Linked DNA regions of Homo sapiens: region 2 is linked to region 1. The links are contacts of gene promoters, found by promoter capture Hi-C in human tissues and cell types (Jung and others, 2019). All regions are on one chromosome and are shown on one strand. The core of a region is centred on a gene start or on the middle of the fragment in contact, and the rest is flanking DNA. Distances in the headings are between cores, read along the strand shown. Region 1 holds the start of HEG1 (heart development protein with EGF like domains 1). Region 2 overlaps SNX4 (sorting nexin 4).

Region 1 (4,349 bases), core at 1,107-3,606:
CTTTCTGGGATTCTCACATGTATTCCTTCCAGTACCTCATATACCTGAAGCCTCCATCACTCACCTCTGCAAAGGAATCAAACTGGGAAAGCCACAAAACCAAGACCAGCAGTGTTACCTGCCACACCTGTGAGGGATGTTTGGGTCACATAAGGCCCCAATTCTTACCAGCTGAGTCCTCTAAGCTAGCTGCCTCCACTGTCCCTACCTCTCTGTAATACCTGTAATACCTACCTCTCTCTAGAGATCCCGCCCCTAAGAGAAGGAAAGAGACTCATGTGCCTGCCCCATCCAGCCAGGGCCCCTGCAAGTCAGTGTCCCTCCCACCTATCCCCTAACAAGATGGAGGCCATTCAGCTAAGACAGCCTGACTACTACCCAGAGAAATCTGCCTTCGGCTCTTGGGTGTCTCCTCTGAAATGTTCTCAGTTCTCTGCAGTTCACCTTCTGTTTAGAAAAACTCACAAAATACTACACAGTGTTCCTCAGTTACTTTCCTAGTTGGAGAAAGTCGGGAAATATGTTGTTTTATGTTCTTGATTCCTTCCCGTGGAAGTTAGCAAAACAGCGTATGCTGTAAGTAATCTAAAGTCACAGTCACTCCGGGATGTGTCTCCTACACGTCTTCAGAAGCTTATCTCTCCTCTCCCTTTTCTTACTGTTCCTCGGTTTCTCAATCTTATGCCAGTGATTTAAAAATTCACAAAATAAGGCATTTTGCGATAATGGGAATACTGTTGAATATGAAATTGAGTTTTTACAGGAGAACTTGATTTTTAAAAATCCAAACTTTTTCTTATTTAACTCTAAGAAGCACCTCTAGGTTGGAGGAAGCAAGCTAATTCACGTGCCAGAAAGTCTGCATGAGATGAGAAACTTAAATGAATTGTCAATTATGCAGACAAAAAACTCAACTTTCAGGGAAACTCCAAATCAATGTCCAGTGTTGCAAGCAACCCAGCTTATTTGAATAGCCCGGACAGAGCATATGCCCTGTGTCACTCACAGGAAGGCAAAGGCTAACACCACCACGTTGCTGACTTTGTTCAAAGCACTTTCCATTTATTTTTACTTTCATTTTGTCACATCATCACTAGGAGGCTAGAAGGAACAGGGATCATCACTTTCATTTCACAGATGGAGAAAGTGAGCGCAAAGAGACAGCAGTCCCAAGGTCATAATGGTATTATGGTTAGAATTCCACTCAGTATGTGGCATATTTTTCCAGATCATAAGAAAGAACTGGACACAAAGGTAGCAGGGAGAAGAGGTCAGTTCCTTCTCTCTGCGTGGGACAGGCGGTGGCTACCACGGAGCAACAGTTCATTGGGAAAGGAAAGGGGAGGGAGGAGGCTCAGGGATGGTCCTGTATCAGCCTGTGCCTTGCAGGGGTTCAACCATGCAACCCCAACCGCGTTCCTTTGCTTTTAAGTCGAACCAGTAGAGCGTTTTGTTTCAAACTACGTACATCCTTTGTCCTTTACAATATCCCGTCCTAGAACCCCTTAAAAATCAGTTATTTAGATGAGAAAGTCGAGCCCTGTACCTGGAGAGGCCAGTTCTGTATAGCGGAAAAAATGAAACTGGGGACCGGCTGGCCAGATATCGGAGGTGGGAGAGATGCTTTGCAGTCTTTTTCCCTTTCCTTTCCATTTTTTTTAAAGTGGGGTGGAAGAGATACAGGGTACCCCATAGGAAATAAGTTTTCTTCCAAAGGGTTGGAGGAGAACGGGATAGTCACACCCCTCAGTCCAGCCAACTGCGAAAGCGTCCCTCCCTACCCGCCGACCCTCAGGGTCCCGCACACGCCGGGCGAGGAGCCCCCACCCTGGGTCGCGCCGCGCGGAGGGGCCTACGGCTGGGGATGCAGCCCGGGGCGCGCCCACGCCCCCAGCACAGACTGGCCAGGCGCCAGGTTCCCGGCTCTCACTCACCCGCGCTCCCGCCTCTGGGGGCCCGGCCGGAGGGTCCCCGCTGTGTCGCGGCGCCTGGCTCAGGGGCCCTGTAGCTGGGGCCGGGGGTCGCGGGCCCGCGGCGCTCCCGGGGCGGCGTGGGCGGCGGCTCGCGCTCCGGGCGGCGCTCCAGCTGCAGCTCCAGCCCCGCTCCCGCGAGGGGCGCCAGGCTCAGCGCGCGGCGAGCCGGGGAAGGCGGCGGGTCCCGCGTCCCGGGGGCCGCCGGCGGCAGCAGCAGCAGCGGCAGCAACAGCAGCAGGAGCGGCGGCGGCCACCGCGAGGCGCGCGGCGAGGCCATGGTGACGGCGCCCGCCCGCGCTCACATGCCCGGCGCGCGGGGCGAGGGCAGCGGGCAGCGGGCAGCGGGCGGCGGGGGCCGCGCGGGGCCGGGGAAGTGAGCGGAGTGAGGCTGCGAGCGCGCTCCCCGCCTCAAAAGTTATCGGGAGCCGCGGGAGGGCTGCCGGGGGCCGGGCTGGCTGGGCGGAGGCGGCCCGCGGCGCCGCTACATGCTAATTAGCCCGGGCGGGTCGCTGGCTGGCGGGCGGCTCCTCCTCAGTTGACATCACCGGCCCCGCGCGGCGGGCCCGGAGGCGGGGAGAGGGCAGGAAGGGGGCTGGGGCCGGGCGCCTGGAGAGCGGCCCGGCCCGGGACAGCGGGATGAGGTCAGCGGAGCCACGGTGCTGCAACTTTTGTCACACACATGCTCCAGAGTCTTCTGAATCGGGCACCACCTACCCAACTCCTTAAACGCACAAGAAGTAGGTGAAAAGCAGGTCCTGGGTAATGTGATTAGCACCAGACTAGATTATCCCAAGTGCTTTGATAGGAGAGAGAAAGGGAACGGTCCCCTGGTACCCAGCCCGCGCTGTCACCGCCGTTATTGATTTGAAGTGTCCCCACTCCCACCCCCACCTCCCCTTCTTCAGGCCCCAGGGCTGGTGATGAGCTCGTGTTTGCCAAACCTAACACCTCACCCTCCGGCCAACGCGAGAATCCGAGTATCCCCCACGCCCTCTCAAGCTTGGATGCCGTTCCCATCCGACCACTGCCTTTGGCTCACACCAGAGTTCTGCAGAGATGTCACCGCGAGGACACCCAAACAGGCTGCAGGGAAAAGAAAACTGTGAATTCAGGCAGGCTAGGGCAAACTCATCATCAGGAAAAGAACTGCAGATCGCAAATTAAACCAAATGATGCCCAGAGAACACAGAATTTTAAATGGAAACCTATGGGGAAAGATTCAAAGATTTCATGTAAACAAATTTTCTTGGTCAATAAAGTTCCATTTGTTTCCATAACCTCTCCCTCCCCAGTAAATGAATAATAAACTGTCTAAAGTTTAGGACTGTAAGCCACCTCATTAAGTGAAGAAAGAGGGGCTCAAATGGGAAAATAACTTGCTCAAGATTCTGAAGGTAGACCCGAAGACGAAATGATTGATCTGTGAATGACCATGTGATATTATTAATTCTGGTCTCCTAATTCAGAGTTTGCAATAATTCGCAAACGGAAACAAATAGTATTGCAACAGAAACAAATGTTGCAGCTCCTTGGGGTTCTTGCGAGTTCTGTTGGGGGCCCCTGTCTGACAACCAAATGCTCGTGAAAATATGAGTATGCACCTCACTGTCAGGCCTGGCTCTCCATCCTATTTCTCTGCTCTTCTCTTTTTCTCTGTCTCCAGATCTCCATGACCCACCTCCAGGAGAATGAGATCGTAGTGTCCAGGGCAGCTGCAGATGGGCCTAGGCCCACTTTCTGGTGACTCAGTACAAGTGAGTCATTTGGCAGAAAAACATAAAGGAGGCTGTGTATAAACAAACTCACCTTAAATGAGAGAATGAGGAGTAAAGATTTGGTTTTATTTTGTTTTGTTTTTAAACAAACCAGCTTTCCAGGGCTCTAACACAGAACTTCCAGGTCTCTCCAAGAAAGTACCAAACAGTAATCTCCCTGAAACTGACTTGGTTTGCTCCCATGGCCTGAGCTTAACTTCTCTGGATGCTGCTCTCACATTAACAGGCAGGACTGCACAGCTGCCCAGACCCAGCCAGACAAGCCCCAACAGACTAGGACTGTGCTCAGAGGTTCTGGTCACTGCCACTCCCTCCCCTCCAAGGAGACCATGTCACATAGTACTGGTTGCACTCCCAGGCAAGTGGAAAGGTTTAAGGGTAGAATGGCCCTTACAGGCTTCTCGTGTGGATTCAGGGATCCTATGAGATAATCTGCCTTCTCTACTAAGACCCAAGGAGTAAACATGTACCTGCCACCTCCCCCCAATCCTCCCCCACCCCCCAATCCCACCCCACTTTAAGTACCACAGGTTTATCTCTCTCTAATCTTCTCTCTGCCTTCTAAGAGAAATGACCGAGTTCAGGGTAACTGTCAGCTAGA
Region 2 (4,349 bases), core at 1,234-3,733, 420 kb after region 1:
ACCCAAAAAACAAAAAACATGCTTACTACAATAAACTTGGAAATAGAAAAAAGAAAAATAGTAATCTCCAAAAATCCCATCCCCCTAAAACTAAAACCAGTGCTCTTACCATATTTATCATATCTTATACTTTTGTACTTCTTTTTCTGCAAAGTTTTTAATTACTGTTTTTAAATTGCCTACAGCAAGAGTGGTAATATGCTTACCCATCAGGTATTTAATAAATACCACTATAAATAGTTGCATAAAATTCCACTAAGTAGTATATAAGACATACAAGCATTCCTTGTTGAATAATCTTGTTGGGATTCAGTTATTCTTAATTTTTCAGTATTATAAAAAGTTATCTCTGAGAATAAGCCTTTTTCCCTCAGATTGTTTCCTTATAATAAAATCCCCAAAGTGGAATTAACCAAGGGAACGGATACATTTTCAATTCTATTGAGATATAGTTTTATATATAAATGCTGAATACATGCATATACTTCTATGCTACTTTGTCAAAAGATAACTCCTAACCAACGAACACATTATTTTAATAACAACAGAATTACAATTTACATCACTGAAATGTGTACTGCCTAGCCATTCACAGAAATTTTACAAGTTAAAACAAAACCTCAATATGGTAATTAATTTGCTTTACGTTCCCCCAAAGCATTATGAAAACAAACTGGAAGACCAAAGGCTCATCCTACAAAAAGCTCTAGAAAAAATTTCTGGTATACAGTTTCTAAGTATAAGCTCTAAGGATAAATTAGCTCCCTGATTCCTTACTCAAACATGAGTATGAGGAATTAGACATTAATGATAGAACAAATCAACCCTTTCAAGATCTCATCTTACAGTGACAGAACCGCCACTGCAAATACTTCAAGTAGGTGTATGAGGATCATAAAATGTTTTCCATCTATTGTTGGCCTGCTCTGAGGAAACACGTACCCACTAGACTAGGGGTTAACACACTACAGGTCTGCCACTTGTTTTGTAAACAGAGTCTCACTGGAGCACTGTCAGGTTCACAGTGGAGCTGAATAGATGCAACAGAAACCATAAAGCTAACAAAGCTGAAAACACCTCCCATCTGGCCTTCAGAAACAAGATGCTGGCCCCTACATTAGAACCAGCTTTCAGGACAAAGTTCATAGTCCTACTCCTACTTGAAACTCTTACAGGTTGTCCCCAGACCTCTAAACTAATTTCTCTAGGATGTCATTTCCTCCTCCTCCTTCTTCTTCTTCTTATTATTATTACTATTATTATTATTATTATTATTTTGAGACGGAGTCTCACTCTGTCTCCCAGGCTAAAGTACAGTGGCACGATCTCAGCTCACTGCAATCTCTGCCTCTTGGGTTCAAGCGATTATCCCACCTCAGCCTCCCGAGTAGTGGGGATTACAGGCATGCACCACCACGCCCAGCTAGTTTTTGTATTTTTAGTAAAGACCATGCTGGTCAGGCTGGTCTCAAACTCCTGACCTCAAATGATCTGCCCACCTTGGCCTCCCAAAGTGCTGGGATTACAGGTACGAGCCACTGTGCCTGGCCCCCAAGTATTTTTTGAGCAGTCTGTGCAGTGTTGAATGTTTTTCTTTTCTTTTTTTTTTTTAAGTGGTTCCATCATCAAGTAAGGTTGGGAAACACTGAGACAATAAAATTTAACAGTTTTTTTTCTGTAGGACCTTTTAGACCTTTAACACCACATATGAATCATGACTGCTCAAGGGAGATACGGTTTGCAGTAGGGAACATCTTACAGGGTTAGCATTCCAGAGAATATATGATGGAAAATGTCATTCTAACACTAACTTTTCTAGATCCCTGTACTTTTAGATACCAAACCTCCTTCCTAAAAGCTGAGCATTCATCCTCTACTAAGATATTAAGCATGGAAGAAAAGAGAAGTTGCTGAAAAACCACTTAAGAAAAAAAAAAAACTAGAAGCAATGTGAGGGTACGATGCAGACTCTCTGAATGTTTGTCCCCCATCTGCACCTCCCACGAGAACTATTGCCTAATTTGTCTGGGTAATTTCTAGGCAACCAAAGGTCCACAAATTTTATCTCATTAATCCACAGTCCTTTCTAATACCCAGTTCTTGACTCTAGCCTAATAATTCTCGCAGGTAACTTTTATGAGAAGGTATCTTATAATTTATTCAAAGAGTCCAACGATACTCTTGAACAGTTAAACGGGAGATCAAGACAATATAAGACCTTCAGAAGAATTTTTTCCTTTATTGTATTTTTTCTGTACTGTCATGGAAATCTTGAAACATACAAAAAGCATATAGAACAGAAGGATATACCTCCATTTCTCAACACCCAGCTTCAGTAATTACTATATAGCCAAACTCATTTCTCCTAAAACTGCCCCCACTCTCCACTGCTCATCGGTGGACTCTTATTAAAACAAATTCCAGGCAATATATTTCATTTCAAGAGGATTCTGGCCAGGCATGGTGACTCATGACTATAATCCCAGCTCTTTGGGAGGCTGAGGTGGGCAGATCACTTGGGGCCAGGAGGAGTTCGAGACCAGCCTCGTTAACATGGTGAAACCCCATCTCTACTAAAAATAAAGATTAGCCAGGCATGGTGCTGCATGCCTGTAATCCCAGCTACTCAGGAGGCTGAGGCAGGAGAACTGCTTGAACCCGGGAGGTGGAGGTTGCAGTGAGCTGAGATTGTGCCACTGCACTCCAGCCTGGGTGACAGAGCGAGACTCCATCTCAAAATAATAATAATAATAATAATAATAACAACAAAGAGGATTCCAGATTCCAATCAGCATAAAATGTGACCTTACCTGGTATCCTAGTCTCTTTCAATGCCTTTGGCACAGGCATGTTCTAAGGTTCCTTCTAGGTTGCCACAAGAGACCAGAGCGGATGGTACATTTTCCAGGTACATTAATTTACTGAGAAGTATTTCCCTCTTTGCCTATTACAGCTGAACTATATGGTTAAGTATAATTATTATTCCTTGATTTCTAGTCCCTTTTGTCATGGCAGACTATTATCTGAAATTAGTTTATTTGGTAGAATTTAAGAGCACAGACACAGGATGGCCTAACACCTATAAACTATTTCACGGACCTTTAAAAAAAACATGAAAGAATATGATGTGTAGATCTAAAATCCTACACTTATTTACATTCCAGCACTGAAATGGCAGGCCTTTTGATAACATCCAAAACAACTATTCTATTACAAACCATGGAGAGAAAACAGGCTAAGTGAGTTGTTTATGACAGAAACCATTGCACATTTTTTTAAAAAGTGCAGTTTGGATGATGAACATATAAATTCAAATGCAAAAATCAGTTATTCATGGTAAATACCACCTACTACTTGAAAACAGAATGATTACATGAGAAGCACTTCCTTATGCATGTGCATCAAAAAGCTTTTGGGGACCACTTACAGCTCTGACTCGAAGAAGATGTGAGATGACAGACTGCAGTTCATCACTATAGTGCTTAAGGTCAGTAAATCTCCTGAAACAGGAAACAAATAAAACATCGTTTTTCAAATGAAAACAAGCAGTCAAAAACTGAAAGAAAAAAACAGTAGTTCCCGACAATAACAAAACTGATTCTATTTAACCATATGCTGGCCTTAAACATTTACACACCAATATAAATCCAAAAAACTCTAAAATAAAATGATATTTTCTGTTGATATTTTGAAAGTCAAGATATCACACTTCATAATTTACCTCGTGGAACTGAGATAGGTAAAAAAAATCTGTTGGTATGAAAAACTACTTTGAAAATACAAAACAGGAAAAACTTTAAGGAGCTAAAAGATACATTATGGTGCAATCATAAACTCATGGTCTCTAACCTCAATCTTAATTCTGCTCAAGTAATTTGCTTCCCTCATCTATTAACTGCCATTTTCCATAAGGACCAAAAACTTCTGATGCACCATCTGTCATTCTCCAAACAACCAAGCTTCACAGATAAACAAAAACCATCAGATGGGAACGACTCCCACCTCTACCTCCTGCCAATCAACTTACACACTTCCCCATATCTACATCATTTTTTCCCTCCCACTAGGATTTCTTCCCATCTAACGCTCTAGATTCCATTCCAGCTACACCCCATATTCCTGTTTCCTGACTTCCTATCTCTATAAACTTCTTCTCATCAGCATATCAATTAACTCAGGTCTCTCATAGATTAAAATACACACTCCCTTGACAACACACCCAGCTATTAACACCCTGTCAATATCCACCCCTTTTATAGCCAAGCTTTCACAAGGCATCACTTCCCCAGCAATAACCACTTCTTCCATTCCCATATACTGCACAGCCTATGAGAATCTAGCTTCTGCCT

What was found. The method cuts DNA at HindIII sites, captures the fragments that hold promoters and counts their contacts. A contact is called where the count stands out against the background at its distance.
Region 2: a contact is called between a fragment that was not itself captured here and the fragment with the promoter of HEG1 in region 1, in 1 of the 25 tissues and cell types used here (aorta).

The regions. Positions count from the first base shown.
Region 1 is chr3:125,053,641-125,057,989 of GRCh38, forward strand. It overlaps HEG1 (heart development protein with EGF like domains 1), which reads right to left and starts at 2,357. Exons shown (of 17, transcript NM_020733.2): 1 at 1,935-2,357. The coding sequence starts at 2,250. RefSeq lists silencers at 1,851-2,010, 2,071-2,160, 2,241-2,620 and an enhancer at 2,871-2,920. The HindIII fragment of the contact is 8,893 bases long and covers 15-4,349 here.
Region 2 is chr3:125,476,820-125,481,168 of GRCh38, forward strand. It overlaps SNX4 (sorting nexin 4), which reads right to left. Exons shown (of 14, transcript NM_003794.4): 7 at 3,428-3,500. Among named protein-coding and RNA genes, the nearest start is that of SNX4, 41 kb to the right of the region's middle. The HindIII fragment of the contact is 3,256 bases long and covers 856-4,111 here.